Regions from separate parts of the Homo sapiens genome. Here regions 1, 2 and 4 are each linked to region 3. Evidence: promoter capture Hi-C in human tissues and cell types (Jung and others, 2019). All regions are on one chromosome and are shown on one strand. Each heading gives the region's core, a stretch centred on a gene start or on the middle of the fragment in contact. The rest is flanking DNA. Distances are from core to core; before and after follow the strand shown. Region 1 overlaps SAMD4B (sterile alpha motif domain containing 4B). Region 2 holds the start of LRFN1 (leucine rich repeat and fibronectin type III domain containing 1). Region 3 holds the start of IFNL3 (interferon lambda 3). Region 4 overlaps SAMD4B (sterile alpha motif domain containing 4B).

Region 1 (6,214 bases), core at 2,901-5,400, 120 kb after region 3:
TGGGGCTGTTCTGTCATGTCCCCTGGCAGTACCAGAGAAGCTGTGTCCCTTAGCCCTGGGGTCCTGGCAGTACTCTGGAGTGGGGAAAGGACTAGACAAGGCTTCTCTCTGTCCCAGATGCCTCTGGCTATGCTGCAAGGCCTAAACAACAGCGATTGAGAATGTCAGGGTAGGGCTGGAGGGGCAGGCTGACTCGACTACTGGAGAAGAGAGGAAAACACCCGTCACTGAGCCACAGACTGAATGTTTACTATGAGTACACTCTGTCAGATGCTTTTCATGCATCATCTCCCTACATCTTCTCAGCAGCTTTATAATCCTTACTTTACAGAGGAGGAAGCATACTGCCCAGGCCACTGTGTGTTTTTGACTGGGGTGCATATCCTTGACTTATTTTTATTTTTTTTTATTTTCATTCTTGACTTTCTGTCCCTAATGGGAATCACTGTCTTTCTTCTTTCTCATCAAGAACTGAAAACTACAGGACTAAGTTATCAAACAGGGTACCACAGAGTTCTTATCGTTTGATCCAGTGCCAGGTGGAGTTGGGAGGGCAGGAAAGACAAAAGTTCTGTGACTTCAGTGAGGCCTTTTCTGCCTTGGAAAATGATCTTTAGATGTGGAGATGGCCTGAAGGACAGCTTCATAATCTTGGCAGTCGGTTCAAGTGAAGACAGACAAGGGAATGAGGTTTCCTAGCTTTGAGTGGCAGATGCTGAAGGGGATCTGGAAATCCAGGGAAGAAGAGAGACTTGGGATTGGAGAGATAAAAGGTTGTGGGTAAAAAGTTCCCCCCTGGCTGGGCGCAGTGGCTCACACCTGGAATCCCAGCACTTTGGGAGGCTGAGGCAAGTGGATCACGAGGTCAGGAGATCGAGACCATCCTGGCTAACACGGTGAAACCCCATCTCTACTAAAAATACAAAAAAAAATAAATTAGCCGGGTGTGGTGGCGGGCGTGTGTAGTCCCAGCTACTCAGGAGGCTGAGGCAGGAGAATGGTGTGAACCCAGGAGGCAGAGCTTGCAGTGAGCCGAGATCGTGCCACCGCACTCCAGCCTGGGTGACAGAGCGAGACTCCGTAAAAAAAAAAAAAAAAAAAAGTTCCTCCCTGCCGGACACCATGGCTCACACCTGCAATCCCAGCACTTTGGGAGGCCGAGGCAGGTGGATCACCTGAGTTTAGAAGCTTGATACTAGCATGGCCAATATGGCAAAAGCCCGTCTCTACTCAAAATATAAAAATTAGCCAGGTGTGGTGGCGTGCGCCTGTAATCCCAGCTACTGGTGGGGGCTGAGGCAGGAGAATTGCTTGAATCCAGGAGGTGGAGGTTGCAGTGAACCGAGATCATGCCACTGCACTCCAACTTGAACAACAGAGCAAGCCTCCATGTCAAAAAAAAAAAATGGAGGCACACAGAGCCTGGATTCAGATCTCAGCTGTGTCGCTTAATGGGCTCTGTCACTTAGGGTGTGTGACCTCACCTTCCCAAATCTGTTTTCTCACCTGCAAGATGAGCACACCAAAACAGGATTAAAACAGGGATGAAAAGCAATCATTTTTAGCATAGTGTCTGGCACATAGTAAATGCTCAATAAACAGTATCCTTCATTCTGAATGAAAGTGCCATATGTTATTGCTATTGTCAGTAGTAGCAACAGCAATAGTGGTATTGGTTCTACTATTAATTTTAACCAATGCTGTAGACATAGTATGAGTTGATGACTTTGAATGAATGGATTTAACAGGTGTTCCCTTGGCTGGGCACAGTGGCTCATGCCTGTAATCTTAGCACTTTGGGAGGCTGAGGTGGGCAAGTCATTTGAGAGCAGGAATTTGAGACTAGCTTGGCCAACATAGTGAAAAAAGTAACAGGCAGGACACGGTGGCTAACGCCTATAATCCCAGCACTTTGGGAGGAAAGGTAGGTGGATCACCTGAGGTCAGGAGTTCCAGACCAGTCTGGGCAACATGGTTAAACGCCCCCTCCACTAAAAATATAAAAATTAGCCGGGTGTCATGGTATGTGGCTGTAATCGCAGCTACTCAGGAGACTGAGGCAGGAGAATCGCTTGAACCCCAGAGGCAGAGGTTCCAGTGAGCCGAGATCGTGCCACTGCACTCCAGCCTGGGCAACAAAGTGAGACTCCATCAAAAAAAAATAGCCAGGCATGGTGGTGCACGCCTGTAATCCCAGCTACTTGGGAGGCCGAGGCAGGAGAATCACTTTAACCCGGAGGCGGAGGTTGCAGTGAGCTGAGATCACTGCACTCCAGCCTGGGCAATAGAGCGAGACTCCATCTCAGAAAAATAGAAAACAAAAACTAACAAACAGGTGTTCTCTCTTGGAAGCTTAGAGCAAAGAGCCCCAGGCCAAGAAAATGCACAGTCTTTATAGCCAGGAGTTAGGAACTGTGTGAGATTCATTTTCCTAAGGCTACAAACTTAAGCAGAATTAGGAGTGTATGTGAATTCTAGGCCACAGAGTTCTAAGGGGATCATTAAGAGAAATAGGGCTACAGACAGGGCATTTCTGAGTTTGTATGCAAGGCCAGGTGTCCATCCTTCAGTGTGGGCAGAGGAGACCAGAAGTCCATGGAACTTTTTTTTTAAGTCAATCCTGAAGCATGCTAGATGTCCTTGGAATCGTAAAGGCCTAAGGAACTTGGGTTGAAAGACCCTCAGATGTCTAGGTTTCCAAGACTTTCCTTATAGGTGCTTATTCCTAGCCTCTTGGTTTCCTGGGCCCAGAGATTTGGCTTGTGCCTTTAGAATCTCTGTGTGTATCTGAAAGGAGGGAGACACAGTGAGATATAATAACCACAATACTAGTAAAAGCAGCTAGTGTTTACTGAGGACTTACTCTATGCTGTGGCCTCACATAATTCATAGCAGCCATGCCAGGTAGGAATGATTCTGGGCTCCACTTTACAGATAGAGAAAATAGAGCTCAGTGAAGTGATCACACTTGCCCAGAGTCACATGGCCAGTAAGTGGTGGTAAAGGGACATATGCCACATCTCTGCCTATTCCTTTTCATCACCCACTCCTTTGGGGTCCTAGCTCTGTCTGGTTAGAGCCAGCTCCTTTGCCCATTTCCAAGACCTCACCATTAGCACATCTCTCAGAACTCCTTTGTGAGATATTTGTAAGTCATCACCTTGGCTACAGATGTGAGCTCAGTTGCCCAAGGGTGAGAGCGTAGTTGGCCTCAGACCTAAATCTTTGTCTCTTTTCCCAAGTATTGGTATTTTTTGTCCCTCTCCTTGTCCTGTCAGCATTATCTCCATCTTCCACCCTGTTTAGCTAGTCACAGAAGTGCTAATGAGGTTTTTTTTTTCTTTTTCTTTTTTTTTTTTTTTTTTTTGAGACGGAGTCTCACTTTGCCCCCAGGCTGGAGTGCAGTGGCGCGATCTCGGCTCACTGCAACCTCCACCTCCCGAGTTCAAGTGATTCTCCTGCCTCAGCCTCCCAAGTAGCTGGAATTACAGGCATCCACCACCATGCCCGGTTAATTTTTGTATTTTTAGTAGAGACAGGCTTTCACCATGTCGGCCAGGCTGGTCTCCAGCTCCTGACCTCAGGTGATCCACCTGCCTCAGCCTCCCAGAGTGCTGGGATTACAGGCGTGAGCCACCACGCCCAGTGCTAATAAGGTCTTTGAGGGGGAGAGTCAGACTTGTAACAGTTCCTACCCAAGCCTTCTTTGATGTGGCCAGCCTGGGGCCATATTCTTAGGGACCTCCCTTGTGGGTTGAAAGGGGAAACCTGAGGCCGGGCGCAGTGGCTCACGCCTGTAATCCCAGCACTTTGGGAGGCTGAGGCGGGTGGATCACGAGGTCAGGAGATCGAGACCATCTTGGCTAATGCGGTGAAACCCTGTCTCTACTAAAAATACAAAAAATAAGCTGGGCGTGGTGGTGGGCGCCTGTAGTCCCAGCTACTCGGGAGGCTGAGGCAGTAGAATGGCATGAACTCAGAAGGTGGAGCTTGCAGTGAGCCAAGATCGCGCCACTGCACTCCAGCCTGGGCGACAGAGCGAGACTCCGCCTCAAAAAAAAAGAAAAGGGAAACCTGGCTTATCTCCACAGGGTAGACTCAGGTCCTCACACAGTGGGATAGAAAGGAGAGGTCAAGATGACCATGACATGGAACAGCCAGGGAATGCTTCCTGGAGGAAGGTAGTAAGTTAGGCCATCTACAAAAGAGAATTTGTATAGGAGGAAGGAGGTTGTTGCGGGCCAAAACCTTGAATCTCAGCCAAGGTGTGGAGCTTGGATAAATACATACTGTGGAGAGAACCCCAAGGAAGATGGGGAGATATCCTGAGCTGAGTCTTTATCTGGAGGAATGGGAGATGGAGGGTGCCCTGGAAATGAAGGTGATGTTAGGCTAGGAGTTCTTGGACTTGAGTCTGTTGGTGCTTGCTGGTTGCCATTATAAACTCCTGGTCAGGAACATGACATCCTGTTGTGATTTAGGAAGATAAATGCATCTGGATGTATGGGATCGATTGGAAGGGGAGAATCTAGAAGCAGAGAGACCAGTTAAAAAACAATAGCAAGCATTTATTATGTCGCCAAACCACTTTGTGTTCTTTGCTAGCTCATTGAATCTCAAAGCAACACTGTGAATTGGGTACTGTAATTATCTCCAAAATTTCGCAGATAATTTAGTGCTCCATGAGGTTCAAGGTAGCTTACCAAGATCTAGCTAGTAAGCTGGGGTGTCTAGACCATCTGATTCCAGAGCCCAAGCTTTTAACTACCATATACCACTGCCTTCTCCATTCAGGAAGGAGACTGCTTTTTGGCAGGGGAAATGGCATAGAGGCCATGAAGAATGGAGGAAGGAGTCATGGAGATAAAGCATGAGAGCAGGCCTGGGGACAGGAGTTGTTCAGATTCCAGAGTAGCAAGTTTGGCTGATTGGGAGGCACTGCAGGTTTCTGAGAACAGGAGTGATAGAACAAAGAAAAATTACTCTACACCAGCTGTGGTGGGCACATGACTGTAGTACCAGCTACTTGGGAGGCTGAGGCAAGAGGATTGCCTGAGTCCAGGAGTTCTGGGCTATAGTGTGCTATGCTGATTGGGTGTCTGCACTAAGTGTGGCCCCAGTATGGTGACCTCCTAGGAGTGGGGGACCACCAGGTTGCCTAAGGAGGGGTGAACTGGCCCAGTTTGGAAATGGAGCAGGTCAAAACTCCCGTGCTGATCAATAGTGGGATTGCACTTGTGAATAGCCACTGCACTGCAGCCTGGGCAACATAGTGAGACCCCATCTCTTAAAAAAAATAAGACAAAAATTACTCCAGAGGCAGGGTCAGTGTGTTTGATCTCACCTATATGAGGGATAAGTTTGGGAGTTATGAAAAGAAAATCGTTATGAAAAGAAGATTGGAGCTGAGGGAATAGGCCATAGGCAGTGCTCTCAGGTGAATAGGAGTACCCCACCCTGGCTCTCCTGATATTTCTTCTTATCCCTTCTGTAGCCATCGTCAGCCAGTGGCAGCAGGAGTCCAAAGAGAAGGTGGTGTCCCTCCTGCTGTCCCACCTTCCCCTGCTTCAGCCAGGCAACACAGAGGCCAAGTCGGAGTACATGAGGCTACTGCAGAAAGTGCTGGCCTACTCAATCGAGAGCAATGCTTTCATCGAGGAGAGTCGCCAGCTGCTTTCCTATGCCCTCATCCACCCAGCCACCACACTGGAGGACCGCAACGCACTGGCCCTCTGGCTGAGCCACCTGGAAGAGCGGTTGGCTAGTGGCTTCCGCTCCCGGCCAGAGCCCTCCTACCATTCACGTCAAGGCTCAGATGAGTGGGGGGGCCCTGCAGAGCTAGGCCCTGGGGAGGCAGGGCCAGGCTGGCAGGACAAGCCACCCCGGGAAAATGGACACGTGCCCTTCCACCCATCCAGCTCAGTGCCGCCAGCCATCAACAGTATTGGGAGCAATGCAAACACAGGTAAGTGGCGGGGGTGTCCCAGAAGGCCATGCCTACTTGAAAAAGGTTGGACTAGGCTCAGTGAGAGCTCTCTCGCTCTGTGGCATTAGACAAGTCACATAAGCTGTAGGCCTCAACTTTATGAGGCAATGCAGAGGCTGTGAACTGGCTTTCCCAGAGCTGAATCTGACCTACAGACATGTCTTATTGAACCCATACTTTGGTTTGGTTTTATTTTGTTGTGTTGGGTTTTTAAATAAATGTGAGTGG
Region 2 (6,769 bases), core at 1,028-3,527, 76 kb after region 3:
GCCCTTTGTCCTCTGGGGTTTCAGGAGCCAAGAACCCCAGCCCCCTCTTCCCTCTGACCCAAGAGTCCAGACCAGACCTCTGGCCCTCCATTAGAACCCAAGAGTTTACATCCCAGCCCCTCAACTCCAAAGTCCTGAACGGTACCAAGAGCTGGGGAAGGGCCAAAGTTTCCCATCCTTGCCATGATACTATTGCCCACACCAACATGTGTGTCCATGTCAGAACCCACGCAAGCCCACAACCCAAGTCTCTACATCTGGATTTCTATGAACATAGCAACATGATCTGTGTGCCCTCCGCCCTCTATGGGCACTTGGCCTGGCATATGGACACACTGTGTCCAGGGACCCCAGGCGGGACCCCAGTATACCAGAGGTCATGCCACATGGGCCTCAAACCCACTGAACCCAAGAGTAGGGACAGCCTTGTGCCAGGGCACAGACACATGTGTCTTTCACATACATGTCTGAACATACACAACCCCCAGAGACCAACACCAAAACACAAACAGACTCACAACATAGATGGATACATACCCTCAAGGTTGACACACCTGCATGCAACAATACATGTACAACACTGACTCTGCCATGCAAGTTCACACACACAAATGCACAGATACAACAGAGAAACTCATGTGCCCCCTAACAGACAACCAGGTACATGCATTTACAACAGATCTACCTTGCACACTCACCAGCACACAGGGGCACACACATCTAACAAACACACACACACCTGTGCAAACATACACAAGTGCACACTCTTAAATGCCTAGACACACTCATACTTCACACATCTCCATGTTGCAAAGTTGATACAGCACCACGCTAACAGATACATACCTCACACACACACACACACACACAAAACCACAAGCATACAGATACGAGGCTGATCCACACTGGAACACGCACACAGGCACAAAAAGATCCACCTTTGCAGACACGCCAAGATGTTCACTCATAACAGACACATGCTCACACAACAGTCCTGTGATTTACACACTTCCAAATGCATAGAAAATACTGAACCACAGTAGCACAGTCAGTAGACAGGCCCAGATTCACACTCACACAGTCTTGGACACACATTCCTCCCAGCCCTGAGGCACCCCCCCACCACCCCACCTACTTACTTCCCAGGCCCAAGAAATCCTAACATCCCTGCAGCACATTCAGCATCCTGCCCTCCACACCCCCAAAAAACCAGGGCAAAAGCCAGGCCAGAGGTCAGAGTTCAGCAGGTGGAAACTCAAGAGGATTTGGGGGTTTGAGTCCTAGATCACCGTTTCAAGGAGATCCTCCCACCAGCAGCCCCAAAGGTTCCCCAGCCTGGCCATCAGGATGGAGGTAACTCTGGCTCCGTCTGCAGATGTCTGGCCGGTGGGGGAATTAGGGTGGAGTGGGTGGGGAAGGGCCGGGTCTTCGCCCCCCAACCCCCACCTCAGGGCCCATCTGTCCATTTCTCGGCCTCTCATCCCCCCTCCATCTGTCCACCTCCTGGCCGCCCATCCCCCCCCCGCAACCACCGGGAAGGGGAAGACATGGCCGCTTCCCCCAGGACCGCTAAGGACCCCCCAGTTGACATGGACCGAGGGAGCGGCGAACTCCCCTCCCCCAAATCCACACCGAGGCCTGGGCGCCGAGCCTCAGCCCCCAAGCCAGCAACCTGCCGTGGACTCACAGATACACACCCTCGGAGACATACAACCCGCAGACACACACACACACACACACACACACACACACACACAAATGGACACCCGAGCGGGCACACCCGGCTCCACAGACCCGGGGATGGACATCCAACCCGGACACAAACACCCAGAGCAGCTAGTCGCGCACGCACATGGGCTTGGGGGGGACCCACACCTGGGCACACAACCCACGCACACACACACCTGCACACAGCCCCTCCGATGGGCGCGCGACAGCGCCCAGACACACAGCCGGAGGGGCGGCCGCTCGGGGGGACACGCGTGCACAGCCGGACACGCCGGCCGGGCTCGACACCCCGCGCACACCCGATGGCCACACGGGCAGGGCGCCGCACACGCCGGCACCGGGCACACATAGGGCCGCGCGGGCGCACGCCGGGCCCGCCGCAGCGCCACGGACACACACTCGCACGCTCGCACGCTCACACCCGCGCACACACCCGCGCCCCCGCCCGCCGCTCCCGGGCCGCTGCAGGCCGCGCTCACCCAGCCCGGGGGGGCCCCGGGCCCGGCCCCGCCGCCGCTGCCTCGCTCCGCGCCATGGTGGGGGGAGGGCCGGGGGAGGGGGCGCGGTGCCGCGGGGCCGCCTCCCTCCCGCCTCCCGCCCTCCCTCCCGAGCCGCAGCCGAGCTCCGCCCTCCGCGCCGCCCGCCGCCACCGCCGCCGCAAGGGGGGAGGGGGCGCCGACTGGTGGGGGCGGCCGGGCGGGGCGGTCGCACACCCGGGATCCCCGCCCCGAACCCGCCGCAGACCCCTCTCCACTGCCGAGCCGCCGCGGGCCCGCCCCCGACCCTTCCCCAGCCCCACCCCCAGCCCCGCCGGCCTCCCCGGAGACCCCCCCAGACCACGCCCCAACTGGCCTAGGGACCCCGGATCTCCCTACAGAGACCTCCCATCACGTCCTAATACCCAGGGGGACCTCGGATCAGGCCTCACCTCTTTTGAGAACCCAGGCGATGTTCTAGGGCCACCCAGGACCACAAATCATGCCCTGCTCTCCTGCTTGACCTCAGACTATGACCCACACACTGTCAGGAACCCCAGACCATGCCCCCAAACCCAGAAGAATCCCAGATCATATCCCAGCATCCAAGGGGATCCAGACCACCCCACCAGCAACCCTAAATCATATCCCAACATTCAGATAGACCCCCAGACCACACCCCTTCCCTCACGGACCCCAAATCATACCCTAACATCGGGGGAGACTTCAGACCATATGTCAGCCAAATCCCAGATGGTGCCTGACTCCCTTTGGGGACCCAAACCACATTCTACAGCCACCAGAACCACAAATCATATTCCACTCCTTCTTGGGGACCCCCAGCCATGTCCTTCTACCCTCAAGGACCCTAACCCATTCCCTTACCCCCAGTATGAACTCCAAACCATGCCTAACTTCTAGGGGGCCCTAAAATGTCTCTTATCCCTATGGAAGACCCTTAAACTTTCCCCATGAACCCCATTAGACCCCAAACCATCTTCCACCCCTTTGACCTTACACCTTTCTCTCTCCTTCTCCTCCAAGACATCCTTTGGTTTCCAAAACTCCCCAATTAGCCCCAATTTTTTCCCACCCCCTACTAGTCCTGCCCCCTTGAGGACCCTGCCTCCTTCTTGCTCCAGTTCTTTCTCTTGGACCCTGAAAGTCCCCCCTCCCTGTGACTTCCATAGAGCCCAGAATGCCTTGCTCCTTCCTAGTTCAGACCCCTTTGCCCATCCCCTGTCCCATAGCTGAACCCCACCCCTTCCCTCAAACCCCACTGAGTATCTCAGGCCACTCTCCTTCTCTTTCTGAGATATTCACAGGGTCCCTAAACCCAGCAACTTCTCCCCTAAAAATCTGTGTTGTTTCATGCAGTGCCCCAGATTCCTGGGGTCTCAAACCCTTCTCGTTTTGGATCCCACTGTACAGAGGTCCTCCTCTAAACCCCTTTCCTAATTTTTTTTTTTTTTTAGACAAAGTCTCACTCTGTCACCCAGGCTGGAGTAGAGTGGCACGATCTCGGCTCACTGCAACCTCCACCTCCCAGGTTCAAGCAATTCTCCTGCCTCAGCCTCCCTAGTAGCTGGGATTACAGGTGTGCGCCACCACGCCCGGCTAATTTTTCTTTTCTTTTTCTTTTTTCTTTTCTTTTTTTTTTTTTTTTTGAGACAGAGTCTTGCTCTGTTGCCCAGGCTGGAGTGCACTGGCATGGTCTCCGCTCACCGCAACCTCTGCTTCCCGGGTTCAAGCAATTCTCCTGCCTCAGCCTTCCGAGTAGCTGGGACTACAGGCATGTCCCACCATGCCTGGCTACTTTTTGTATTTTTAGTGGAGACAGGGTTTTGTCATGTTGGCCAGGCTGGTCTCGAACTCTTGGCCTCAAGTGATCCGCCCGCCTCAGCCTCCCAAAGTGCTGGGATTACAGGCATGAGCCACCGCACCCAGTCTAATTTTTCTTTCTTTCTTTTTTTTTATTTGTTTGTTTTTGAGTCAGAGTCTCACTCCATCACCCAGGCAGGAGTGCACTGGTGTGATCACAGCTCACTGCAGCCTGGACCTCCTGGGCTCAAGTGTTCCTCCCATCTCAGCCTCCTCAGTAGCTGTTTTGTTTTTGGTTTTGTTTTAGTTTTTTTATAAATGGAGTCTCACTATGTTGCCCAGGCTGGTCTTGAACTCCTGACCACGGTGGTCATGAGCTACTGTGCCTGGCCTAAATTATTTACATGAAGCCCGCCCTATCCCCCAGATCAAGCTCAGCTCTGCAGATAACTCCTTCTGGTGAACCTTAACCCCAAGCGCAACTCTGAGATGTCCCTGGGGACACTCACAATCCCCCTATTCTCCAGACTCCACCCTTCATCGCCACCACCCAGGCAGCATCCCCACCTCCCACCGTGGTTGCTAGTGCTCCCTGCTGGAGCTTGGGGGTAGGAATAACAACAACAACACAAGTGAACACATATACAGCACTATTTATGTGCCAGAAATGATTCTAAGGGTTTCACATCTATCACTTCATTCAATCTACACAACAGCCAAATGAAGAGGTCCTATTACCATCCCCATTTTATGGATAAGGGAAATAGAGGCACAGAGAGGTTTGGTCACTTGCCCAAGGTCACACAGATAGTATGTGGCAGAACAGGGTAGGGGTGATGGGGAAAGAGGGTGAGGGTAGGCCTGGGCTGGACAGGAGTAGAAAAGAGAGGGAGAGAAAAAAAGATAATAATAAGAGAGACAGATGGAAGAAGAAAGAAGCTGAAACCGAGGGAGATATGCCTTATTCATAGAGCCAATCTGGCCCTGTGAGCTCTGGTCCCAGCTGACCCTATTTCCAACGACTCTCCTCTTCTGTTCCAGCTTCTTCTTCTTCTTTTTTTTTTTTTTCTTTTTTTTTTTAGAAATGGGGGTCTCACTATGTTGCCCAGGCTGGTCTGGAACTCCTGGGATCAAGTGATCCTCCCGCCTCAGCCTCCCAAAGTGCTGGGTTTACAGGCGTGCACCACCACTCCTGGCCCCTCTTTCAGTTTTAACAATGACTTTTCTTTTCTTTTTTGAGACAGGGCCTCACTCTGTCACCCAGGCTGGAGTGCAGTGGCATGATCTCGGCTTACTGCAACCTCTGCCTCCCAGGCTCAAGCGATTCTCCTACCTCAGCCTGAGTAGCTGGGACCACAGGCGCCCACCACCACACCCGGCTAATTTTTGTATTTTTAGTAGAGACAGGGTTTTGCCATGTTGGTCAAGCTGGTCTCGAACTCCTGACCTCAAGTGATCCGCCCACCTCAGTCTCCCAAAGTGCTGGGATTACAGGTGTGAGCCACCGCATCCGACCCCTTGTTCAGCTTCTACGATGACTTTCCTATTCCTCCAACACACCAGCCCACAGCAGCAGCCCCTGAGCATATGCACTCTTCTCCCCTTTCCATGGCTGCTGGTTCTTTCTTTTCATGATGGTCTTAAATGTAATCTCTTCAAAGAGACCTTCCTTTTCCATCCCCAATTTACACACACCATCCCTACCTGGGCCCCCAACCAGCAGTCTGATGTTACTTTGAAATAGAAGAAGAAGGAGAAGGAGAGAAGAAAGGAAGAAGAAGGAGGAGGAGGAGGAGGAGGAGGGGAGGAAGAGGAGGAGGAAGAAGAGAAAAGAAAAGAGAGAAGAAAAGAAAGGAAGAGGAAGAAGAAGGAGGAGGAGGAAGAAGAAAGGAGGAAGAAGAGGAGGAAGAAGAGGAAGAGGAGGAGAAGGAGGAGGAAGAAGGGTGGCTGGATGGATATATGATGAAGTAATACCTTGACGTGTCAGTGGTGGCATCTAAGTGATGGGTATATGAGTGTTCACTATAAAATTATTTCAACTCAGGCTGGGCGTGGTGGCTCACATCTGCAATCTCAGCATTTTGGGAGGCCGAGGAGGGAGGATCAGTTGAGCCCAGGAGTTCAAGACCAGCCGGGCAACATAGCGAGACCCCATCTCTAATAAACTTTTATATAAATATATATATAGATATATATATAATACACACACACACACACATATATATATAATTATTTCAACTTGGCTGCATGTTTGAAATGTTTCATAGTAAATGTTAGGGAGTGGGGAAGCAGGACTCTTCTGGCGGCAACAAACAGCCCCACCAGGTGCCACCATTTCTATCTAGCACATCACCTTATTTATTTCCCTTATAGTATTTATCACTCTCTTTATTTTTATTTTAAAAGGAAAAAAGAGATGAGGTCTTGCTGTGTTGCCCAGGTTGGTCTCGAACTCCTGGGCTCAAGCCATCCTCCTGCCTTGGCCTCCCAAAGTGCTGGGATTACAGGCGTGAACCACTGCGCCTGGCTCTTGTCACCCTCTTATTTTGTTTACTTGTTTACCTATTTATTGTTATTTATTTACTGTCTAGTCATTGAAATATAAGCCTCCCAAGGGAAGTGGCACGGACACCAACATCTTCCAGTGCCCAGAATAGTGACTGCCACCCAGGAACTCAGTAAACGTGCTTTTCTTAAAGACAGGGTCTCCCTCTGTCACCCAGGCTGGAGTGCAGTGGCGTGAT
Region 3 (6,844 bases), core at 3,510-6,009:
CTGCTGTAACAAATGACCCCCAACTTAGTGGGGTAAAACAACTCAGACTTTCCAGGGATGGATAGACGGATGGGCAAAATATAGTCTACACATATGATGGAATATGATTCAGCCTTCAAAAGGCAGAAAATTCTGGCCGGGTGCGGTGGCTCCCACCTGTAATCCCAGCACTTTGGGAAGCCGGAGCAGGAGGATCGCTTGAATCCAGGAGTTCCAGATCAGCCTGGGCAACATACTGAGGCCTCGTCTCTATAAAAAATTTAAAAATTAGCCAGATGTGGTAGCACACATTTGTAGTGCTGGCTACTCAGGAAGCTAAGGCAGGAGGATCACTTGAGCTGAGGAATTTGAGGCTGCAGTGAGCTGATTGCACAACAGTACTCTAGCCTGGGTAACAGAGCAAGACCCTGTCTCTAAACTTAAAGACAGAGAGAGAGAGTCCAGGCGCGGTAGCTCATGCCTGTAATCCCAGCACTTTGGGAGGCCAAGGCCAGTGGATCACCTGAGATCAGGAGTTCGAGACCGACCTGGCTAACATGGTGAAACCCCATTTCTACTAAAACTACAAAAAATTAGCTGGGTGTGGTGGCAGACACCTGTAATCCCAGCTACTCGGGAGGCCGAGGCAGGAGATTCACTTGAACCCAGCAGGTGGAGGTTGCAGTGAGCCAAGATCGCGCCACTACACTCCAGCTTGGGCAACAAGAGCGAAACTCTGTCTCAAAAAAAAAAAAAAAAAAAAAGAGAGCAAGAGGAGGGAAGGAAGTTCTGACACATGCTACAATAAAAATGAACTTTGAAGACATTATGTCAGTGAAATAAGCCAGTCTCAAAAGAACAAATGCTGTATGATTCCCCCTACATGAGGTGCTGAGAGAAGTCAAATTCCTAGAAACAGACGTGTCTAAATATTTGCCGGGGTAGCGGGAGGGGTTAATAGGAAGTTGTTGTTTAATGGGTACAGAGATTCAATTTTGTAAGATGAAGAGAGTTCTGGAGATTGCTTGCCGAACAATGTAGCAAACACCACTAGGACCAGACCTGTAATCCCGGCACTTTGGGAGGCCAAGGGGGGCAGATCACTTGAGGTCAGGAGTTCGAGACCAACCTGGCCAACATGGCAAAACCCCATCTCTACTAAAAATACAGTAATTAGCCAGGCATCTGACTGGCTAATGGCACACACCTGTAGTCTCAGCTACTCAGGAGGCTGAGGTGGGAGGATCACTTGAGCCTAGGAGGTCGAGGCTGCAATGAGCTATGATCATGCCAGTGCCCTCCAGCCAGGGTGACAGAGCAAGGTCCTGTCTCAAAAAAAAAAAAATAGAATAAATAAATAATAAAATTGCACTACTGAACAATGTGCTTTAGAAAGGATAAGATGGTACATTTTGTGGGTTTCCCACAATTAAAAAAAATATTTAAATTACCTGAACAAAAAGAACAAAACAAAATGCATGCACATTTCTATTCCTACAGTTCTGACAGTCAAGATGTCAGCAGAGCGGGTTCCTTCTGGAAGCAGCAGGGGAGATCTCTCTCCTTTCTCAGCCTCTGGGGGTGTCCAGCATCCCTTGACCCCGGTTCCCTTCCTGACATCACTCCAATGTCCTGTTTCTGTGGTTACATCTTCCGCTAATGATGCTGACCCCGGCCTCCTTCTTAGAAGGACTTTTGTGATGACATTGGGTCCAGGTGGACAACCCAGGATAACGCCCCCATCCCAAACCCTTAACTTACTCACATCTGCAGAGTCCCTCGTGCCATGGAACATAACATATTCCCAGGTCCAGGAATCAGGAACATCTCTGGGGACCAGTCTTGCATCTAGCACGAATCCATTACAAATGCAGCAACACACCACAGCAGTGTTAGCAGAACTTGTGACTGTTACCAAAAGAAATCACAGGCATTTCCTATCACGTTATCTTCCAGCAGGCACCTTGAAATGTCATTTATGCTCATCTCTGCTTCTAAGTCACAGTGGTTATTAAAGCTGCCACAGGTGATTTTTTACTTAATGCATTCATGAAGAAGCACATGAATTGCTATGTCACAGTGTGAAAAAATATTTTGATCACTGTATTACAATCAGAGTTGGATTCCTTTGTCCTGCACGTGTTCTTTCCTTCTGAGAAGGGTCCGTAGGCTTTTCAAGGCTGCCGTGAGGTCCGGTGGGTGAAGATGATGAGGGAGCCCTGTCCCGGGGACTGTGGAGCACAGAACTGCCAGGAACCAGGGCCCCTGGATGACTGAGTGGGGCCATCCTGCCAGGGGGAGCGCTCACCTTGGGAGGAGGAGCTGGTGGAGAATGACACTCTGTGGTTTGTAATTCATGATCACTGTATTTGGGGGACTCTTTGTTCCAGCAGCTCAGCCAACTCTACTCAGCAGGGGTCCCTGATCCAAGTTGTCCTCCTCATCTGTAGGGGCTTATCCAGGGTTAGTGAGACCTCATGTTTGCTTATACAATTCAGGGGCTTCTTGGAAAGAGAATGGGCTGGACCCGGTGACTCAAGCCTGTAATCCCAGTTCGGGGAGGGGCTGGAGAGGGTGGAGGATGGTGCCGAGGAGAGAGAATCACTTGAGCCCAGGAGTTTGAGGCTACAGTGAGATGTGATCACGCAAGAGACAGGATCTTGCTGTTGCTCAGGCTGGTCGTGAACTCCTGACCTCAAACAGTCCTCCCATCTCAGCTTCCACCAGTAGCTGGGATTATGGGCTTGTGCCACCACACCCAGCCAATTCTCTAATTTTTTATAGAGACAGGATCTTGCTATGTTGCCCAGGCTGGTCTGGGCTCAAGTGATCCTCCCAACTCAGCCACCCAAAGTGCTGTGATTACAGGCTTGAGCAATCACATCCAGGCTCTAAATTAATTTTAAAGATGCTTCATTTCACCCAATACATCCAAAGTGCTATCATTTCAACATCTAATGAATATATAAATTATAATTAAGCTGTTTTACTTTTTTTTTTTTCTCCACAGTAAATCTTCAAATTCTGGGGTATGTTTTACACTCACTGAAAAAATGAGGTTGCACCACCTACATTCCAGGTGCTCGATAGTGACATGTGACCTGGGGACCCCAGTGGACAGCACAGACTCAATGAACCTGCTGTTCTAGATGCTACTTTTAGGGTAATTTGTTATGGCAGCAATGCAAAGGAAATACACACCAACGCACACACAGTCCCACGTCATGGGTGTCTTTTCCTCATTGTTTATTTCAACAAGGATTTCAAAAAGTAGAAAAATAAACATTTTCCTGGAGGTGAGTTGGATTTACATACACAAATACATAAATAGCGACTGGGTGACAATAAATTAAGCCAAGTGGCTAATTTATAAATAAAATCTCAGGTTGCATGACTGGCGGAAGGGTCAGACACACAGGTCCCCGCTGGCAACACAATTCAGGTCTCGCGTGAGGAGGCGGAAGAGGTTGAAGGTGACAGAGGCCTCGAGGCAGCCAGGGGACTCCTGTAGGGAGGAGGGGATGGGTCAGGGGCTGTCTGGGTTCTGGGCTCCCAGTGGCTCCCCAGACCTCAGTCCCTCTCTTCCCGGGTCACTCACCTTTTTTGGGGCCTCCTGGAGCCGGTGCAGCCAATGGTGGAGGCGGCCCCGGGTCCTGGGCCCTGCCGTGGGCTGAGGCTGGATCTGTGGGCAGAGGAGGGCGGTGTGTGAGCCGGGGCCTTGGCCAGGGGAAGGACGCTGCTCAGAGCTCACAGACCTGGGTGCCCGGGCCCTGACGACTCACACAGGCCCGGAGCTGGGAGAGGATATGGTGCAGGGTGTGAAGGGGCTGGTCCAAGACATCCCCCAGGGCTGGGTCAGTGTCAGCGGTGGCCTCCAGAACCTTCAGCGTCAGGGCCAGCTCAGCCTCCAAAGCCACGGGGCGCTCCCTCACCTGAGGAGAGGTGAGAAAGAGCAGGTGAGGGGGGAGGTGAGGGGAACAGGTTGGGGGAGGAGGATAGAGAGGAACAAGTGAAGGTGACAGGCACAGGGGAGAGGGCACAGCCAGTGTGGTCAGGTAGGAGCAGAGGGAAGGGGTAGCAGGTGTGGGGAGAGGAGAGAGGGACAATGGAGAAGGAGAAGGTGAAGGGGCCACTACAGAGCCAGGTGAGCAGGGCTGGGAGGGCAGGGGTGGGCCTGACTCCCCCTCTCACCTGCAGCTGCCTCAGGTCCCAGGTCCTGGGGAAGAGGCGGGAGCGGCACTTGCAGTCCTTCAGCAGAAGCGACTCTTCCTAGACAGCAAAGGCACAGGTTAGCCCCAGCAGGAGGGGTGGAGGTTAGACCACTCTGATGGGATTGGAGGATGGCTGACAACAGGATAGGGGAGGTTAACTGCTGGGAGGATGGTAGAGGACCCTCTTCTTCAGGAAAACATGAGTCAGTCCCTGCAGTAGGAGCATGAGATAGCCCACTGCAGGGAGGGTGGAGGCTAGCCCAGTGAAGGAAGCTGGGAGTGGGAAAGCATGGTGACCCTTGGAGTGCGGGTGGAGGCTAGTCCATGGCAGGAGGGCAGGGGGAGACTCACTAAGGCATCTTTGGCCCTCTTAAAGGCCTGCAGCTCCTGTGGAGACAGGGACTTGAACTGGGCTATGTGGCAGCCCCTTGCATCCGGGAGAGCCCCGCGGAGCCTGGCGACAGGAACTGCTCCAGTCACGGTCAGCACTGCGGCCATCAGCACCAGCACTGGCATGCAGTCCCCGGTCATGTCTGTGTCACAGAGAGAAAGGGAGCTGAGGGAATGCAGAGGCTGCCCACTGAGGGCAGGGGCTGCAGGAGCTGAGCACGGACAGAGATGTGGGACTCACCTAGTTTCATTCCTGATCTCTGGTCTTTGTCAGCAGAAGAAACACTCTGAGGCTGTCACCCAGGGTCTGTTTGGGTCTTGTCTGGAGTCTCTGTTCTTTTCAGTCCCCTCTTCTGGATCTCAGACTGTGTCCTGGCTTTGACTCTTTCTGTCAGTTTTGAGCTCTGTCTGGGATGTAATTCCTGCCTGAGCTCCATGGGGCAGCTTTTATCCCTGACAGAAGGGCAGTCCCAGCTGATGTAGGAAAAGTGAAAACACAGCCTCAGGTAAGACACCGGCCACCAGGGGAGCCCCAGGCTGGGAAAGCCCAGAGCAGGGCAGGGCTAGTGAGCCAGATGAGCAGCTGGAGGGAAAGAGAAACTGATGGAGACTCAGGGGTAACCTACAGGAAGGTATGTTCCCAAGAGGATTCCACCTGCTCTGGTTTTGTTGTTGTTTAAGACAGGGTCTCACTCTGTCACTGCAGTGCAATGGCATGATCACAGCTCACTGCAGCCTCAAACTCCTGGGCTCAAGCCATCCTCCTCACCCAGCCTATTAAAGTGCTGAGATTACAGGCCTGAGCCACCACTCCTGGCATATATATATATATATATATATATATATTTTGAGACAGGGTCTTGTTCGGTCACCCAGGCTGGAGTGCAGTGCAAAATCTTGGCTAACTGCAACCTCCGCCTCCTGGGTTCAAGCAATTCTCTTGCCTTAGCCTCCCAAGTAGCTGAGATTACAGATTTGTGCCACCATTCCCAGCTAATTTTTATATTTTTAGTAGAGATGGCGTTTCACCATGTTGGCAAGGCTGGTCTCAAATTCCTGATGTCAAGTCATCTCTCTGTCTAGGCCTCCCAAATTGCTGGGATTTCAGTGTGAGCCACCATGCCCAGAGGCCAATATTTCTTAATTGCCCAGGCAAGGAAGGACTCAGGAATATGAGGCTCTGCTCAAGAATTGAGGTGTGACGAAGGACTTGAAGGACACCACGTGGGTGCCGTCTTTCTTAGGGAAGTTCAGGCAGTGGTGAAGAGCATGGGTCTTGGAGATGAAGGGTCTGGGGTTCAAACCTGGTTCTGACCCTCACTAGCCGTGTGACCTTGGCAAGGAGGGGTGCATTCAGCAACGCAGATTGCTAATGCACAGATTTGGAGAAAAAATTAATAACACAATTGTTTGTGTATTTATGTGAGTGATTATTTAATAGAATCCACTCATTAAGACCATACTAGGACCTCAGCTGGAGAGTTTAAAACGTGATCTCAACGGACACTACTCCTCCACAAGGCAAGTATGCTAACCCATCCTATAGGTGAGGAAACAGAGGCTCAGAAAAGTAATTTGCCCTGAATTCCACTGTAATTAACTGGCAGGGTCAGAACTGAAACTCAGGCCACCTGAGTCCCTGGCTCGGCCTCTTTTTTTGCTGTAAGGTGCACCTCACAATCATCATACGGAAAACAACCAATGCGATCAAAACACTCTTTGATAACTGGCAATAAATTTAAACCGGGAGACAGAATAGCAAATGCACAGGAACTTCACAAATACAAACACACGTAAGGGAATCCAAAGAACCACAGTCGGTTAAGGACCCTTGGGCCTTTCACTACCAAATCCCTCATGGATTGGTGTCCCTTAGATGCCGGATCCAAGAGTCACGGATTCACAGAATCTCAAAGCTGGCTGTGGGGCTACAAATCCGGGGTTAGGACCTGGTGTTGGGGGTGTCCTGGTAACCACACAAGGAGGAACTGGTCCCTGTTGCCTGGGGTCAGCCACGGTTTCCAGAGCTCAAGTTTTTTCCTGCCACAGCAACCGTTGGAGGGTCGTACAATGCACCCCGAGGAAATATCGTGGCTTCCTGGAGAACTGTGGTCTCTTCCCTGTAGAAGGACCCGCTCCTCTTATATCTGAGACAGTGGATCCAAGTCAGGCCCAAGGCTGCGAAGAAGTTTTCGTGCCTCAGCACCCATTGACTGAGAGCCTCGCCCGGCCAGCCCAATGGACGACAGGAGCTGCTTTCGGCA
Region 4 (7,033 bases), core at 3,955-6,454, 110 kb after region 3:
TTGGGTCAAAAAGTTTGATTTTTAGTTAAGATAGGTTTGGCTGCAATGGGGCAGTAGTTGTTAGGTATGCAGACCCTGGGTCTGGACAGGATTTGTATCCCACATTACCACTCACCAGTTTTGTACCCTAGGACGAGTTACTTCCCTGGTCTTTTAGTTTCCACAGCTAAAAATATGAAGGAAATAATGATACTTTACTTCATAGAATTGTTACGAGGATTAAATAAGTTAATACATGTAAAGTACTTAGAACAATGTCTTGCCCATAATTGCAATGTTAGAAAAACAATAAAATAAAAAAAAAGCTCATATCAGCCAGAACTCTAAAAACATAAAGTGATAGAACCTTAGCTCAAAGTGGTTTAATGAAAAAAGTGGGGGATTAATTGGCTTTTGTTACTGGAAAGTCCAGAGCTAGGTTGGCTTCAGACCTAGCTGCATCCAGGTGTTCAAATAATTTTCTCAGTCATCTCCTCCCATTTCTCCACTGAGTTAGCTTCATCCTCAACAAGCTTCTGCTTTGGATGACAAATATGGTCCTCAGCAGCCCCAGGTTTTAACCCTACCTCCTTGGAAAGCCTTAGTGGAAAGAGAACTCTTTCTTGAGAGTCCCAGTTTGAAAATAGTTTCTTCCTTGAATAGATGTGAGATTATGCCAGAAGATCCTTAGAAACATATTTTGGGTTCTGTACCCTGCAACTCAGTCTCTGGCTTGCTGAGCCAAATAGGCCTGTGATTCCATCCGATGAACTTTCTGAGCAGTGATGGCAATCTCCCTCCCCACTGTCCCCCAGCCGCAGTCATTCTCTGCTCTGTGATTGTTTGGGTCTAGAGAGAGCTTGTGGCTGGTCTGACTCAACCACACTTTGCTTTGGGATATCACGGGTGATATGAGGTGATCAGCCTGGCTTGATGGTGGCCTCAGGGGAGCAGAATCCAGGAGTAATGGCAATACCCTCACCACAGTTTAAGGTTTCCAAGACACAGAACTTTGGAAGAGAGTTAAGTAGGATTGCTGTGAGTGGAGTTTTGTTTTGTTTGTTTTAGTGTAAACTTGTTGAATAGAAGCGGGTTCAGGGCAAGTTACAGAACAGCAGTGTATGGAGTATGCAAGTCTCAAATATCTCCAGCCTGCACTCATTCATTAATGCATGGAGGCACTATTCTAGGTACTGGAGACAGAGCAGTGAATAAAACATTCAAGGTCCTGAAATTCATGGAATTTATATTCTGATGGGGGGAGGAAACAAAAAAATCAGAGTGTGATTCATGCTGTGAAGGAAATAAAACAGTGTGAAAGAGAGGGTGGGAGTGGCCACTGTAGTAGACAGGGGGATCAGAAGAGGCCTCTTTTGGGAGGTGACAGTTGAGCCTGATAACCAGAAAGATGAGAAGGCACCAGTTGTGGGAAGATCTGGGAGTGGAACATTCTAATCTAAGCATTGTTACATGCAGAAAAAGGACCTCTGCAAGGTGGGGAAATTTATCACAGATATTTATTGAGGGCCTGCTATGTACCAGGTGCTATGCTAGGAATTGGAGATGTAGCAATGAATAATATAGCTACAGTCTTCCCTTCTCTCATGGATCTTACAGTCTAGGTGTTTTTGGAAGAGCTGCAGCCTTTGAAGAAACATCTCTTGATGATGATATCATAGACTCCTTCCTACTGGGCAGATGAGGCAGAATGGGGCACAGGTGAGCCCAGATCTGATTGATGAGAAGGAACCAACCTTGTGACGGTCCGGGGAAGAGCATTTCAGGCAGAGAGGTCAGCAGGTGCAAAAGCCCTGCCATATGTTCAGGGAATCGCAAGGACCAGTGTGGCTAAAGCCTAAGTGAGGGAGAGGGGTGAGGGTTGGAAAGGCTGACAGAAGCCAGATTACTTGCAGCCTAAGGGCCACAGTAAGGAGTTTCTATTTTCATTTAAGGGGATTGGGAAACTATTAGAAGGGAGTTTTTAAAAGCAAGACAGCGACATGATCTGATTAATTTTTTTAGAAAGCTCACTTTGGTTTCTGGGAGGAAAACAGAGGGTCAGGACAGAATCAGGAAGGAAAGTTAGGAGACAATCCATTTGTCCAGATGAGAAATGGTGACATGAATGTGGTGGTGGTGGTGGTAGTGAAGATGTAGAGAAGCAGATATATTTTGGGTGTACAGAAAACAGGACTTGATGATGGGATTAGAGAAAGAGAGGAATCTAGAATAATGATAATAGCCAAGTCATTTATGCCTCACAACTCTATGAGAGTAGGCACTATTATTATTTTCTGTCTTCCTTCTCAGTAGGTACTATTATTACACCCACATTACAGATGACAAAACAGGCATGGCAAGGTGAAATCACTTGCCCAAAATTACACAGGTAGTAAGTGGCAGGCTTATATTTCCAACCCGGCAGTCTGGTTCTAGAGCCACTTAGGTTTGGGGAAAGATAAGCAAGGCATGTGTAGCTGACATTAAGAAAAAAGAAATATCAAGACCTAATGACTGGGTCTTTGGGAAATGGAAGAAGTCAAAGATGACTCAAAAAAATGTCTCAGTTGTCCACAGAGAGGTGATGATTGAATCTACAGGAGTTAATTACATGCCTAAGTGAGAGAAAACAAGTGTAAAGAAGGGAAAGGAAGCAGAGAATAAACTTTTCGGGGGGAAGGGGTGTCAAGACATTTAGGAGTGGGAGGAAGAATGCTAGCTTCCTCTCTATTCCAGAGTTTACCGGAGCTCCCCATACTGTACTTATCTTCCAGGAGGCCCTGCCTGGCTTCTCCTCTCCTCTCCCTCCCTTCCCCAGCACCATTCATACAAAAAGCTCATTCTTTGCTAATGCAGTGGTGTACATGTTTTGTGTACGTATTTCAGGAGTTTCTGGAAATAATGGTTGATTCTTATAAGAGAAGTTGTGCTCCCTTGGCTTCTGACAGTCTCTTCTCAGGTTATGAAAGTGAGTTAACCCTAGGTAACTAGCCTGTTACCTTGTTCATGAAGTGTAAGTTCTCAAAGGCCTAGGTCGTGCTGTAAAAAGAACTAGGAATGGGTAAGAAGGCAGATAGGATCCCCTTATTCATCCAGAGATGTTGGTATTAAAGGGCCCTTAGGCCCAACTTTCACCTTGTTGCCCAGGCTGGTCTCAAACTCCTGGGCTCAAGCGATCTGCCCACCTCAGTCTCCCGAAGTGCTGGGATTACAGATGTGAGCCACCATGCCCAGCTTTCTTGCATTGTTAAGAGCAAGCAAGAGCTCTGAAGCCAGACTGCCTGGCCTTGAAAATCTCAGCTTGGTGTACAGTCTTGGGCAAAGTGACTTAACTTCTCTGTGCCTCAGTTGCTCCATCTGTAAAATGATAATATATTCATATATGTATGTTATATATTTTTGAAATAGAGTTTTGGGGATCAAATGTGCTTATCTGTGGAAAGCTGTTGGCAAAGGGCCTGACAATGTATGATGTATGAAGACATGCTAAGCATCATGCTTGCTATTGAAATGAAGTATAGAGGAGGAAAAAAGCATCATGCGCGGTATTTTTAAATACATTGTTTCATTTAATTCTTCTAACAAGCTTCATTGAGGAAGAAACAGAGTTACTTGTCATAGTCAATACAGCAAGTAAGTATAACAGGAGAGCCAGGATTTAAGCCAGGTCTGACTAACTCCACCATCCTGCTTCTGAATGAAGAGAGCTGGACTCCAGAGGCACTGTTTATGGGCATATGGGCCTTTTCTCACTGTTTGGGGCCAGAGAAGAAGCCCAGAGGGCAGTTTGTCCTGGAACATCTCAGCATTTTTTTGTTTTTGTTTTTGTTTTTGTTTTGAGACAAAGTCTCCAGTCCCCCAGGCTGGAGTGCAGTGGCGCAATCTCAGCTCACTGCAACCTCCACCTCCCAGGTTGAAGCGATTCTGCTGCCTCAGCCTCCTGAGTAGCTGGGATTACAGGCGCCTGCCACCACGCCCAGCTGATTTTTTGTATTTTTAGTAGAGACAGGGTTTCACCGTGTTGGCCAGGCTGGTCTCGAACTCCTGACCTCAGGTGATCCGCCCGTCTCGGCCCCCCAAAGTGCTGGGATTACAGGCGTGAGCCACCGTGCCCAGCCTTTCTCCAGGTGGGAGTGCAGTGGCATGATCTCAGCTCACTGAAGCCTCGACCTCCAGAACTCAAGTGATCCTCCCAAAGTAGCTGGGACTGCAGGTGCACACCACCACGCCCAGCTAATTTTTGGATTTTTTGTAGAAACGGTTTTGCCATGTTGCCCAGGCTGCTGATCTGGAACCTTTGGCTTTTGTTTTGTTTTGTTTTTGTTTTTTGAGACAGGGTCTCACTCTGTTGCCCAGGCTGGAGTGCAGTGGCACGATCTTGGCTCACTGCAACCTCTGCCTCCCGGGCTCAAGTGATTCTCCCGCCTCAGTCTCCCAAGTAGCTGGGGTTACAGGTGCACGCCACCACGCCTGGCTAATTTTTTTGTAATTTTTGTAGAGACGGGGTTTCACTGTGTTGCCCAGGCTGGTCTCGAGCTCCTGAGCTCAAGCGATCCACCCGCCCATGCCTCCCAGAGTGCTGGGATTACAGGCGTGAGCCACTGCACCCAGCCCTCTTAGCCATTTTGTTAACCTCATTTCCCACCTCTGGAGGTGGTAGGGGCTTCCCAAGAAGATCACTTGGACCTCTTCAAGTATGGTGGCAATATTGCTGGGCTGTTGGAGAGACTTCTGTTATAGAGGCTCCCCTCTTGTGTTTTTCCTCAAAGGCAAGGAGTCATTTTTGGTCACATGAGGACAAAGAGACCAGACCAGTAGTGCATTCTGTTTTGCATGGGAATTGTCAAGGCTCTTTCAGTTTTAACTGAAACCCAACTCAAACTGGCCTAAGTCAAAAACGAATTTATTCATCTATGTAACTGAAAAGAGTGGGCCACAAGGGGGAGGCTTCAGGCTAGCTGCATCTAGGTTTTAAATCATGTGAACAGATCTCCCTTTCCCCCTCCCCCATCTCTTGACTTTGCTGTCATCTGTTAGTTTCATTCTGAAGCAGGCTTCCACCGTGAAATAGAAGAGGTGGCAACTGGTGACATCATGAGACGATGTGTAATCTGAGCAACCCTAACCAAGAACTTATTTTCCTTAGTAGTTCCAGCAAAAATCCAGAGAGGACTATCCTTGGCCAGGCTTTACCCCATGTCCACTTCTGGAGCCAAGAAAGACAGTTCCTTCTCCAAGGGGAACCCAGGGTGTTGATACTAGAAGATGGAAATGGATACAGTAAGATGCTGCCACAGTGAGATGCCTCACCCAGGTCTCCCTCTGTCACTTCAGCCAAGCACATGGGATAGAAAGTAGCAGGCGGCCTCTGGCCCTTTAATGGAAGAGGGCCATCCAGTCCTCTCCAGTTAACATCTAGACCGAACACAAAGCATCCTTCTCTCATCCAGAAGACATAGGAACCCTACCTTCAGGGATGATTTTTTTTTAACAGTGAAATCTTAAAAGTAACTGTTTCACTAAAGCCTCCAGTATTTACTGAAGACTGTCAGAATCATCCTCCATCACTAGATCTTCTCCACCAGTCATGTTCCCTGAGCAGTGGGGTGGCTTGAAGGTATAAACCAGAGAGGCCCAAGGGAGGGATAGTTAGCAGACTTCTGGTCTTTTTCTAGTTTGTGCTCTTCTGTTCCAAGGACCACAGGTATGTCTTCTTCTGTGTAGTTGTTCACTATTGTTTCAATGTGATTCGTTTCCCACATTTGAAAATAGGGGGGGATTTTACTTTAAAATTCAGATATCTGGCTCCTCTTTAGGGGAAAAAAAAAAAAAAAAAAACCTAAGACGTAACAATACTGGACCCACATTCCTTCATGGTAGCAGTTGATAAGAGGTGGATAGTGACTTCTCCCTTTTGACCGGGTGTGGACTTTCCAACTCACCATAGTCCCAGTTGGCCTGCTTTGTTCAAAGCCTGGCCTTGTAAGCATCATGTTTGAGACCCTATTATGTCCGAAAGCTTTGCTTCTATCGTTTGGCCTGGGGGGAAAAGCTGGATTAATGTTTAGTCAGCAGCTTATTGGGTGGGTGGAGGGGGGGAACAGTGCTGTTGCTTAGGAAAAGTAACAACCCAGTAAAAGAATTTATGGGAAAGAGTGTGCACAACTTTGGTCTGTTTGTGGATTTGGTCGTTTTTTTGCTGTAAATGCTGTTGGTATATCAAACCTCCTGTCACAAATGTTCCCTCTGAAATAGTAACATGTCCTTCTATCTTATGAGTTGCCACCCAGTGAAGGAATCCCTCCCACTCCCGAGGGATGTTCATCCAGCCTCCGCTTGACCACTTCCAGCAGCCAGGGAGCTTATTACCTCCTCACATGGCAGCCAGTTCCATTCTTGGACAGATGCGTTATTTTAAAATTCTTCCTTATGTTGAAGCAGCTGCTGCCTCTTTGGGACTGAAAGCCACAAAATGCTGGAGCTGGGAAGGAAAACCGATTTTTTTAGGCGCGTGAGCTACCACTCATCCACCCTGCATCCAGGGCAAACATTGATAATTAATCACAGCACTCTTTCTCACTGAGTCAGGAAGTATGCTGCCTTAAAATTGTTTTTAATTAAATTCTTTTTTAAAAATTACAAAAGTAATATGTATTCACTTGCAACTAGTGAAGTAGTACAAAGTTATATAAAGATAGTGTTAATAATCCCCCTGTTTCTCCAAGATAGTGTTAGCAGCCGAGGGTGTATTCTTCTATACATTTATACACATATAGACATAAATATTCATATATAAGATATATAAGGGGTTTTGTATGTGGCTTTTTTTTAATTTAAAAAATGGCATTATATTGTACATATTACTGTGTAGCTTATGGACACCCCTCCAAGTAGTTACAGATCAAACATTGTATATAGCTTTGTTTTTTTGTTTTCTTGTTTTCTTTTTGAGATGGAATCCCGCTCTGTCACCCAGGCTGGAGTGCAGTGGCATAATCTCGGCTCACTGCAGCCTCCACCTCCCGGGTTCAAGCGTTTCTCCTGCCTCAGCTTC

Evidence for each region. Contacts are between HindIII fragments. The study calls those that stand out against the background at their distance.
Region 1: a fragment that was not itself captured here is called in contact with the fragment with the promoter of IFNL3 in region 3 in 8 of the 25 tissues and cell types used here (H1 embryonic stem cells, liver, lymphoblastoid cells and 5 more).
Region 2: the fragment with the promoter of LRFN1 here is called in contact with the fragment with the promoter of IFNL3 in region 3 in 4 of the 25 tissues and cell types used here (adrenal gland, heart right ventricle, mesenchymal stem cells and 1 more).
Region 4: a fragment that was not itself captured here is called in contact with the fragment with the promoter of IFNL3 in region 3 in 14 of the 25 tissues and cell types used here (IMR-90 fibroblasts, bladder, dorsolateral prefrontal cortex and 11 more).

The regions. Positions count from the first base shown.
Region 1 is chr19:39,364,161-39,370,374 of GRCh38, forward strand. It overlaps SAMD4B (sterile alpha motif domain containing 4B), which reads left to right. Exons shown (of 14, transcript NM_001384574.2): 4 at 5,495-5,965. It also overlaps the pseudogene RN7SL566P. Among named protein-coding and RNA genes, the nearest start is that of PAF1, 24 kb to the right of the region's middle. The HindIII fragment of the contact is 4,760 bases long and covers 1,771-6,214 here.
Region 2 is chr19:39,318,586-39,325,354 of GRCh38, forward strand. It overlaps LRFN1 (leucine rich repeat and fibronectin type III domain containing 1), which reads right to left and starts at 2,278. Exons shown (of 5, transcript NM_020862.2): 1 at 2,208-2,278. RefSeq lists a silencer at 1,867-2,126. The HindIII fragment of the contact is 12,533 bases long and covers 1-5,353 here.
Region 3 is chr19:39,240,247-39,247,090 of GRCh38, forward strand. It overlaps IFNL3 (interferon lambda 3), which reads right to left and starts at 4,760. Exons shown (of 5, transcript NM_172139.4): 1 at 4,542-4,760; 2 at 4,171-4,248; 3 at 3,762-3,911; 4 at 3,578-3,661; 5 at 3,307-3,484. The coding sequence starts at 4,721. The coding sequence ends at 3,386. It also overlaps the pseudogene IFNL4. The HindIII fragment of the contact is 34,684 bases long and covers 1-6,844 here.
Region 4 is chr19:39,346,692-39,353,724 of GRCh38, forward strand. All of the region lies in intron 1 of SAMD4B (sterile alpha motif domain containing 4B), which reads left to right. Among named protein-coding and RNA genes, the nearest start is that of SAMD4B, 7.8 kb to the left of the region's middle. The HindIII fragment of the contact is 6,332 bases long and covers 2,039-7,033 here.